Linked DNA regions of Homo sapiens: regions 2, 3 and 4 are each linked to region 1. The links are contacts of gene promoters, found by promoter capture Hi-C in blood cells and fetal thymus (Javierre and others, 2016). All regions are on one chromosome and are shown on one strand. Each heading gives the region's core, a stretch centred on a gene start or on the middle of the fragment in contact. The rest is flanking DNA. Distances are from core to core; before and after follow the strand shown.

Evidence for each region. Contacts are between HindIII fragments. The CHiCAGO score rates a contact against its expected background, and 5 or more counts as called.
Region 2: a contact is called between a fragment that was not itself captured here and the fragment with the promoter of IL4R in region 1, in 5 of 17 cell types (total B cells, activated CD4 T cells, non-activated CD4 T cells and 2 more). The highest score is 6.8, in total B cells.
Region 3: a contact is called between a fragment that was not itself captured here and the fragment with the promoter of IL4R in region 1, in 4 of 17 cell types (monocytes, non-activated CD4 T cells, total B cells and 1 more). The highest score is 6.7, in monocytes.
Region 4: a contact is called between a fragment that was not itself captured here and the fragment with the promoter of IL4R in region 1, in 1 of 17 cell types (monocytes). The highest score is 5.5, in monocytes.

What each region holds. Positions count from the first base shown.
Region 1 is chr16:27,312,711-27,315,248 of GRCh38, reverse strand. IL4R (interleukin 4 receptor) reads right to left here and starts at 1,275. Exons shown (of 11, transcript NM_000418.4): 1 at 1,229-1,275. RefSeq lists silencers at 535-584, 1,025-1,234, 1,255-1,554 and an enhancer at 1,332-2,062. The HindIII fragment of the contact is 16,225 bases long and covers 1-2,538 here.
Region 2 is chr16:27,433,932-27,436,469 of GRCh38, reverse strand. IL21R (interleukin 21 receptor) reads right to left here. Exons shown (of 9, transcript NM_181078.3): 3 at 2,021-2,123. Among named protein-coding and RNA genes, the nearest start is that of IL21R-AS1, 18 kb to the left of the region's middle. The HindIII fragment of the contact is 7,943 bases long and covers 1-2,538 here.
Region 3 is chr16:27,417,149-27,419,686 of GRCh38, reverse strand. The region is part of intron 1 of IL21R (interleukin 21 receptor); the gene reads right to left. Among named protein-coding and RNA genes, the nearest start is that of IL21R, 16 kb to the right of the region's middle. The HindIII fragment of the contact is 5,619 bases long and covers 1-2,538 here.
Region 4 is chr16:27,395,533-27,398,070 of GRCh38, reverse strand. No RefSeq gene overlaps it. Among named protein-coding and RNA genes, the nearest start is that of IL21R, 5.4 kb to the left of the region's middle. The HindIII fragment of the contact is 8,609 bases long and covers 1-2,538 here.

The sequences.
Region 1 (2,538 bases), core at 26-2,525:
GGCCAAACCTACACCTGAGCCTGTTTCCCCATTGGACTTTGGGATTTTGATAAAGGCACTGAGGTCCCAGCAAATGCCTTGGGCTCCTCATAGGCTACTGGGGGCAGGGAAGTGCAGTGGGTCATGCCTCCCAGAGGGCTGGGGAAGGGGAGAGACTAGAACTGGAGCAGGGTTAGCGCTGGCCTGGGGGCATTCCTTGAACCCCAGAAGCAGACAAACTAGTGGTCCCCTATCTTGCTTAAGTCTAAGAAATCCAGATTTTGTTTAAAAAAAAAATCAGGGCTCAGTGGCTCACACCTGTCATCCCAGCATTTTGGGAGGCCGAGGTGGGAGGATCACTTGAGGCCAGCCTGGACAACATAGTGAGACACCATCTTTATAAAATAAATTTTTAAAAATAAAATAAAGATCAGATTCCTGGGTTTACTGAATCTGAATCTCAGGGCAAGGACCTGGGAATCTGCATTTTAAGCAAATCTCCCGGAGATTCTGGTTATTGTGGGGGCTCCTCAAACGTGATTGAGAGATGGAGAGCAGCTGGCTCTGGCGTGGGATTGCCTGGGCTCTAGTCCTGCTGCCCCACGGACTCCCAAGTGGGCGGCACCTTAGGGCAAGTTACTAAAGCGGCTGGGGTCTTGGTGACCTCATCTGTACAATGTCCATGACGCACAGCACCGGCCACAGAGAAGTTAGTGGGAGGTTTCACTTGGCATCCTTTCAGTAAAACAAGTCCCAGTCAATGATCGCGATTATTGGGTCCATCTGATATTCGGAGGCGGAGACCGCCCCGATTCACTGACCTACTACTCAAATTTACAGTTCTCAGAACTTTCCCCACCCTTTCTCTCTCCGAAGTCCTCACTGACTTCCTGAGCGCAGGGCTGGGCGCCACTGCCCGGAGAAGAGGGGCTGCGTGGCCTCCGACAGCCTAACCCCAAGCCCCCCACCCCCGCAGGCCGTCCCGGCGGAGGTCTCACTGCCAGCACCGGCTTTGGGGAGCGCTGGGTGTCCACGTACCCCGGGCCTCGCGCCTCCGCTGCCGTTCGGCGGCAAGGACGGAACCGGGCGCTGCTCCGCGCGCACCGAGAGTCGCGGGCTCGGGCCCCGCTCGGAGTCGGGGTGGTCCCCGTGGTCCCCGCCGGCGGCCGAGCCCTTCCCGAACGCCCTCAGCCGGCGTGCCCGGGCGATACCTTCGCAACCCGATCCGCGCGCGGGCCCCGGATCCTACCTGCGCGCCCCTGCTCCATTCGCCGTCCGGGCGCCCAAGCGGGAAGTGGGGGACCCCTGGGTGGCCCTTCCCTGGCCCGCGCCGCGCGGGGCTTTCCTGGGCGCGGAGACCCAGCCCGCCCCGGCTTCCTGCTCCCCGCCCCGGCGCCCGGCAGATTTGCATGCGCCGCCCCGCCCGGCGCGCCCGGCCCGGGTCCCGGCCACCTCGCGCCCCTGTCGCTGTCCCCGCCGCCGCCGCCGGACAGTCCGAGCCGCCGTCCTCTCCTGGGGGCGACCCCAGCACCTCGCTGGGTGTCTTGCCGCGCGCTTCCTCCCACGCCGTAGCCCGAGGTCACGCCCAGCGGAGAACTCTGCAGTGGATCCCCTTGGTCTCGGAATAAAACGCCCACGCCGACCAGGCCTCCAGGACCTGCTCCTGCCTGGCCTCCGCGGCCTCTTTTGCGCCGGGGCAGTTGCGTTTGGTGGGGGAGGGCTGGGCGACTGGAATCCTCCTCCCCTTCCTAACAGCCCGGCTTCCAAGTGAGAGTGGTTGCACATTCTTCAATAAATGTTTACCCAACTCCTACTCCAGCCACATTTGGATAGTAAAACAGCCCTTCAATCAGTAACTAGTACAATCTGTCGGGCACTGCAAATGTTAACTCGTTCAATCCTGGCAACTACCCTATAAGGGAGTGATACTATCACCGGTTTTACAAATCAGGAAACTGAGGCACAGAGTCCTTAAGAAATTCAAAATGGGTTGGGCAAAGTGGCTCATGCCTGTAATCCCAGCACTTTGGGAAGCTGAGGCGGGAGGATCACTTGAACCCCATAGTTCGAGACCAGCCTGGGCAACCCTGTTAGCGAGACCCCTATCTACAAAAATTGACATTTATAAAATTTTAAAAAAGAAAAGAAAGAAACTCAGAATCACTCTGCAGGTAAGCAGGAGCAGGGGTGGAGCTGGGATTCGAACACAGGCCCCATAGACCATTAACGTCTGGACACCATAAGAACCCGGATGCAGCCAGATGACTGGGGGGAAAACACTCAACAAAGTATTTCAGGTCAGGAGGGCCCAAGAAGAAAGTAGGGACCTCTTAGACCAGTGGGGCAGGTGGTCTGGAAGAGGCTTTTTGAGTAGAGGCCATTTGAGCTGAGACTCTGAAGAGCCTATGGGGGAAGACTTGTGTAGGGAGAGGGAAGAGCTAGTGCAAAGGCCCTGTGGGAACCAGCTCAGCCTGCAGGAGGAATTGCTGAAGGCCGGCATGGCTGTGGAGCCCTGAGTGAGGAAAGAGCGGAGACAGGGGAGGTGGGAGATATTTGGAC
Region 2 (2,538 bases), core at 27-2,526, 120 kb before region 1:
CTCCCAGCCTGAACTTGCTCCTTATTCCCCCTCACCCTGCCTCACTCCACTCCAGCCACACTGACCTCCTCCCTATTCCTCAAACGCACCAGCTCTTCTCCCACAGGGCCTTTGCACTGGCAGTGCCCTCTGCCCAGCTCCCTGGCTTCCTCCTTCTCACTAGCAGTTGTGGTCCCTTTACCTGAGGTCCAGTGTTCTGTCCTTGATATAGCACCCAGTATTATTAGAAAGTATCCTGTTTGGGGCAGAACACGGTGGCTTATGCCTGTAATCCCAACACTTTGGGAGGCTGGCCATGCGGCAGACCGGCCATCCCGGGGTCTCAAAACCATGGGCGACCTGTGTGGGCGAGAGAGTGGTCTTTGAAGCTGGTGGATAGACCAACCCTGCGGGCTCCTGACTTTTCAAGTCCTGTGAGCCCTGAGTGGTTGTCTGAAAGGCGGGTACAGTGGGCGGATCACTTGAGGCCAGGAGTTCGAGACCAGGTGGGCTAACATGACAAAACCCTGTCTCTACTTAAAATACAAAAATTAGCCAGGCATGGTGGTGCACACCTGGATGCAATCCCAGATACTTGGGAGGTTGAGGCAGGAGAATTGCTTGAACCCAGGAGGTGGAGGTTGCAGTGAGCCGAGATCATGCCACCGCACTCCAGCCTGGGCAACAGAGTGAGACTCCGTCTCCAAAAAAAAGAAAGAAAGAAAGTGTCCTGTTTGGGCCTGGCATGGTGGCTCACACCTGTAATCCCAGCACTTTGGGAGGCTGAGGTGGGCAGATTGCTTGAGCCCAGGAGTTTGAATCCAGCCTGGGTAACATGGCAAAACCCTGTCTTTACAAAAACTACAAAAATTATCCAGGTATGGTGATGCATGCCTGTAGTCCCAGCTACTCAGGAGGCTTAGGTGGAGGGATTGCTTGAGCCCAGGAGGTCAAGGCTACAGTGAGTTCTGATCCCACCACTGCACTCCAGCCTGGGCAACAGAGCAAGACCCTGTCTCAAAAAAATAAAATAAAATAAAATAAAATAAAATAAAAAAGAGAAAGCACCTTGTTGGTTGTTTTGTGTGTCTGTCTCCCCCAGCCTCCGCCCCACCGTGGTACGTCAGTTCCAAGGCATCTGGGGCCTGGTCAGTCTTGCTCTGCTGAATCCCCAGTGCCTGCAACAGTGTCTGGCAGGAACTTAATACATGTTTTGTTTTGTTTTGTTTTGTTTTTGAGTTGGGATCTTGCTTTTTTGCCCAGGCTGGAGTGCAGTGGCGTGATCATAGCTCACTGCAGCCTCGACCTCCTGAGCTTGGTCCCCCTGCCTTAGACTCTCAAGTAGCTGGGATTACAGGATTGTGCCACCACGCCCGACTGATTTATTTTTTGTAGAGACAGGGTTTTGTGATGTTGCCCAGGCTGGTCTCAAACTCCTGGGCTCAAGTGATCCTCCTTCCTTGGCCTCCCAAAGTGCTGGGGTTAGAAACATGAGCCACTGCACCTGGCCTATAAATGGTTTTGAATGAATGAATGAGCTGATGGATAACAGAAGCTCTTCTTTATCCTGAGCTGCATAGGGTCTAAAAGGGACCCATGGACTTTGGAGTTGGGCGGTCTGAATTTGAATCCCAGCTCCAGCATTCACTGGCTGTGTGACCTTAGGCAAGTTGCTTAACCTCTCTGAACCTCAATGTCCTCATCTGTAAAATGGGAGTAATCATTGTGAGGGTTGGGGGTGACCATTCATGGGAAGCGTGTAGTTGGGGGCCTGGTACCTAAGTGCTTGAAAAATCATGCGGGAAACCAGCCATCCCGGGGTCTCAAAACCATGGCCGACCTGTGTGGGTGAGAGAGTGGCCTTTGAAGCTGGTGGATAGACCAACCCTGCGGGCTCCTGACTTTTCAAGTCCTGTGAGCCCTGAGTGGTTGTCTGAAAGGCGGACACAGTGGTCCTCAGTGCACAGTGTCCTCCTGGGGGAATCACTGAGCAGGCACCCTGAATTGCATCCCCGGGGACTGGTGAGGCCCGGCTACTTACCAGGTAAGGGTGAGCGTGCTGGGGTGGAGGTTCCACATTTCCAGGATGCAGATGACCGTCTGGAGGTAATCGGTGTAGCAGACGAGGTCGGGGCAGCCCCAGCCTGGAGGGTCAGTGGGGAGAGAGGCCTTGGTGGGGGGTGGCTTGGGACTGCAGAGCTTCCTCTCCATCCCCTCGAGGGCTGGAGGAAGAATGGGTGCAGGGGTCCCCAGGCCGGGACAAATATGAGGACTCAGGAGCTGCTTAGATGTAGGCCTGGCACCCAGGGGGCCTCACCACCTGGAAATTCCTTGTTTGAGCACCAATGTTTCAAGGCTGGCTATGAAGACAGGATGCATGTGATGGCAAATAATATAAAACTAGCTGGTCCCCAGCTCAGCACCCTCCTCCAGAGCCCTGCGCCCGGCCACCAGGTCTGTGTCCCTCCTGGCCAAGCTCCCACTCAGAATGGCAATATCCTAAATGCCCCAGATGTGGTAGGAACCCAGCCAGAGCACACGCACACACCCCAAGAGGGT
Region 3 (2,538 bases), core at 28-2,527, 100 kb before region 1:
GGAGGCTGAGGCAGGCAGATCACTTGAGGTCAGGAGTTGGAAACCAGCCTGGCCAACATGGTGAAACCCCATCTCTACTAAAAATACAAAAATTAGCCAGGCACGGTGGTGTGTGCTTGTAATTCCAGCTATTCGTGAGACTGAGGCACAAGAATCGCATGAACCCAGGAGGTGGAGGCTGCAGTGAGCCAAGATTGTGCCACTGCACTCCAGCCTGGGTGACAGAGCAAGACTCTTAAAAACAAACAAAAAATGTTAACTTGTAAAACAGCCTCAGGCAGGTCCTTCAGGATGGATTCCGGAAGAAGGCATCATTATCATAGGAGATGCCAGCTCCATGTGTGTTTTTGCCACTGAAGACCTTCCAGTGGGACAAAATGTGGAGGTGGAAGACAGTCATATTGGTGATCTTGACCCTGTGTAGGCCTAGGCTAATGTGTCTGCCTGTGTCTTAGATTTTTTGTTTTTTGTTTTCTGGGTTTTTTTGAGATGGAGTTTTGCTCTTGTTGCCTAGGCTGGAGTGCAATGGCGTGGTGTTGGTTTTCCCGGGTTCAAGTGATTCTCCTGTCTCAGCCTCCCAAGTAGCTGGGATTACAGGCGCCCGCCACCATGCTTGGCCAATTTTGTATTTTTAGTAGAGATGGGGCTTTCACCATGTTGGCCAGGCTGGTCTCGAATTCCTGATTGCAGGCGATCCGCCCTCCTTGGCCTCCCAAAGTGCCGGGATTACGGGCATGAGCCACCATGCCCCGCGTGTCTTAGGTTTTAACAAAAAAAAATTTTTTTAAGTAAAAAAATAAAAAATAAAAAATTTTAAAATATAATATATAAAAAGGCTTTTAGAATAAGAATATAAAGAAAAATATTTTGTATAGCTGTACAATGTGTTTGTGTCTTAAGTGTTAGTACAAGAGTGCACGAAAACACTTAAGTGTTATTACAATAAGATAACTGTTATTACAAAAGTGTTATTCAAAAAGTTTTAAAAAGTTAAAATGTTTATAAAGAAAAAATGTTGGCGGGGCGCAGCGGCTCATGCCTGTAATCCCAGCACTTTGGGAGGCCAAGGCGGGCAGATCACGAGGTCAGGTGATCAAGACTATCCTGGCTAACATGGTGAAACCCCGTCTCTACTAAAAATACCAAAAAAATTAGCCGAGCGTGGTGGCGCGCACCTGTAGTCCCAGCTACTCTGGAGGCTGAGACAGGAGAATTGCCTGAACCTGGGAGGCGGAGGTTGCAGTGAGCTGAGATCGCGACACTGCACTCCAGCCTGGGTGATAGAGTGAGACTCTGTCTCAAAAAATGAAATAAAATAGGGCCGGGCGCGGTAGCTTACGCCTGTAATCCCAGCGCTTTGGAAGGGCGAGACGGGCAGATCACAAGGTCAGGAGATCGAGACCATCCTGGTTAGCACGTGAAACCCCATCTCTACTAAAAATACAAAAAATTAGCCGGGCGCAGTGGCAGGCGCCTGTAGTCCCAGCTACTTGGGAGGCTGAGGCAGGAGAATGGCGTGAACCCGGGAGGCGGAGCTTGCAGTGAGCCGAGATCACGCCACTGCACTCCAGCCTGGGCGATAGAGCGAACCTCCGTCTTAAATAAAATAAAATAACATAAATAAAATAAAATAAAATAAAATAAAATAAAATAAAATAAAATAAAATAAAATAAATAAAATAGGAAAAATGTTACAGTAAGCCAAAGTTAATTTATTATTTTAAAAATTCAAATAAATTTAGAGTAGCCTAAGAGTTCAGTGTTGATAAAGTTTACAGGAGTGTACAGCAATGTCCTGGGCCTTCACATTCCCTCAGCACTTAATCACTGACACCCAGAGCAACTTCGAATCCTGCAAACTGCATTCATGGTAAGTGCCCTACACAGGTGTGCCGTTTTTTCATATTTTATATTATGTTTTCACTGTACCTTTTCTATGTTTAGATACACAAATACTTACAATTGTGTTACAGTTGCCTACAGTATTCAGTACCGTATCATGCTGTGCAGGTTTGTAGCCAATTATAGGCTGTAAGATACAGCCTAGGTGTGTAGTAGGCTATACCACCTAGGTTTGTGTAAGTGCACTCTATGACGTTCACACAATGACAAAATTACCTAATGACACATTTCTCAGAATGTATCCTCGTCATTAAGCAATGTATGACTGTTTCCATATGACCAAGAAATTTCACACCTAGTTATATAGTGAAAAGAATTGACCAGATGCAGTAGCTCATGCCTGTAATCCCAGCATACTGGGAGGCCAAGGCGGGAGGGTTGCTTGAGCCCAGGAGTTTGAGACTAGCCTGGGTAACATGGCAAGACCTCATCTCTACAAAAATTAAAATGAAAACATTTTCTGGGCATGGTGGTATGTACCTGTGGCCCCAGCTACTCAGGAGGCTAAGGTGGGAGGATCACATGAGCCCAAGAGTTTGAGGCTACAGTGAGCTGTTTTCACACCATTGCAGTCCAGCCTGGGTGACAGAGTGTGACCCTGTCTCAAAAAAAAAAAAAAAAGAAAAGAAAAAAGAA
Region 4 (2,538 bases), core at 14-2,513, 83 kb before region 1:
AACTTATTAAGAAACTGACAAACTGTTTTTCACAGCAGCTGCCCTGTATTATATTCCCACCAGCAATGTCTGAAGGTTCCCATTTCTCTACGTCCTTGACAATATGTATTTTCTTTTTTTTTTTTTTCTTTTTTTTTTTTTTTTTGAGATGGAGTCTCGGTCTGTCGCCCAGGCTGGAGTGCAGTGGCGCGATCTCGGCTCACTGCAAGCTCCGCCTCCCGGGTTCACGCCATTCTCCTGCCTCAGCTTCCCGAGTAGCTGGGACTACAGGTGCCTGCCACCACGCCTGGCTAATTTTTTGTATTTTCTTTTGTAGAGACGGGGTTTCACCGTGTTAGCCAGGATGGTCTCGATCTCCTGACCTCGTGATGCGCCCGCCTCGGCCTCCCAAAGTGCTGGGATTACAGGCGTGAGCCACCGCACCCAGCAGACAATATGTATTTTCTGTTGGTTTTTATTATAGCCATCCTAGCGGATGTGAAGTGGTATCTCATTGTGGTTTTGATTTGCATTTCCCTAATGGCTAATGATGGTAAGCATCTTTTCATGTGCTTGGTAGTCATTTGCATATCTTGTTTGGAGTAATGTCTATTGAAGTCCCTTGCCAAATTTTATTTATTTTATTTTTTTTTTAGACAGAGTCTTGATCTGTCTCCCACACTGGAGTGCAGTGGTGTGATCTTGGCTCACTGAAACCTCTACCTCCTGGGTTCAAGCGATTCTTGTGCCTCGGCCTCCCGAGTAGCTGGGCTTACAAACGTGTGCCACCATATCCAGCTAATTTTTGTGTTTTTAGTAGAGACGGGTTTTCACCATGTTGACCAGGCTGGTCTCGAACCCTTAACCTCAGGTGATCCGCCCACCTCAGTCTCCCAAAGTGCTGGGATTACAGGCATAAGCCACCGTGCCCAGCTCCTTGCCAATTTTTAAATTTGATTGTTCATCATTTGTTGTTGAATTTTAAGAGTTCTTTGTATATTCTGGAAACTCACCTTTATCAGATATATGAATTACAAATATTTTTCCCATTCTGTGGCTGTCTTTTCACTTTGTTGATAGTGTGCTTTAATGCAAAAAAAATGAAAAAAAATTGACTATAGATTCATGGGTTTATTTCTGAACTCTAAGTTCAATTCCATTGATCTATATGTCTAGCCTTGTGCCAGGATTATCACACTGTTTTGATTACTGTAGCTCTGCAGTAAGTTTTGTTTTGTTTTGTTTTTGTTTTTGTGTTGTTTTGAGACAGAGTTTCGCTCTTGTTGCCCAGGCTGGAATGCAATGGCACAATCTTGGCTCTGCAGTAAATTTTAAAAATGGGAATTTGAGTCCTCCAACTTTATTGTTTTGGCTTTTCTGGGTCCCTTGAAATTTCACATGATTTTTAGGATCAGTTTTTCCATTTTTTAAAAAAGGCCATTGGGACTTTTATAGGAATTGCATTAAATCTATAAATTACTTTGAGGAGTGCAATGTTAAATCTTCCATTACATTAACATAGAATTTAAAAAACTTTATTTAGGTCTTTTCTAATTTTTTCAGCAATATTTTATAGTGTTCAGTGTACAAATCTTGCACCTCCTTGGTTAAATTTATTCTTAAGTATTTTATTATTTTTGATGCTATTATAAATAGAATTTATTTAATTTCCTTTTGGGGTTGTTTATTGCTAGTATATACAAACACAATTTATTTTTGTATGTTGATCTTATACCCTGTCACTTGGCTGAATTTATTAGCTCTAATAATTTCTTTGTGCGTTCTTTAGAATTTTCCATATATATGATCATGTCATCTGCGAATAACAGTAGTTTTTACTCTTTCCTTTTCCCATTTGAATGCCTTTTATTTCTTTTTCTTGCTGAATTGTTCTGGTTAAAACTTTCAGTGCAATGTTGAATACCAGTGGTGAAAGTGGGCATCCTCTTTCCTGATCTTGGTGGAAAAGTTTTCAGTCTTTCACTGATTTAGTGTGATGTTAGCTTGTTAGCTGCGGGTTTTTCTTTCTTTATTTCTCTTTCTTTCTTTCTCTCTTTCCTTCTTTCTCTGTCTCTCTCTTTTTTATTTGAGATGGAGTCTCACTCTGGTGCAGGTTGGAGTGCAGTGGCATGATCTTAGCTCATTGCAACCTCATGGGTTCAAGTGATTCTCCTGCCTCAGCCTCCCAAGTAGCTGGGATTACAGGTGTGTGCCACCACATCCAACTAATTTTTGTATTTTTAGTAGAGACAGCATTTCACCATGTTGGCCAGGCTGGTCTCGAACTCCTGATCTCAGGTGATCTGCCTGTCTCGGCCTCCCAAAGTGCTGGTATTACAGGCATGAGCCACTGTGCCCAGCCAGGTTTTTCATATATGGTCTTTATCATGTTGAGGGAGTTCTCTCTTATTCCTACTTTACTGAGTGTTTTTATCATGAAAGGGTGTTAAATTTTGTCAAATGCTTTTCTGCATCAATTTGGATGATCGTGTGGGTTTTCTTATTCTATTAATGTTATGTATTGTATTGATTAATTTTCTTATGTTGAACCACCCTTGC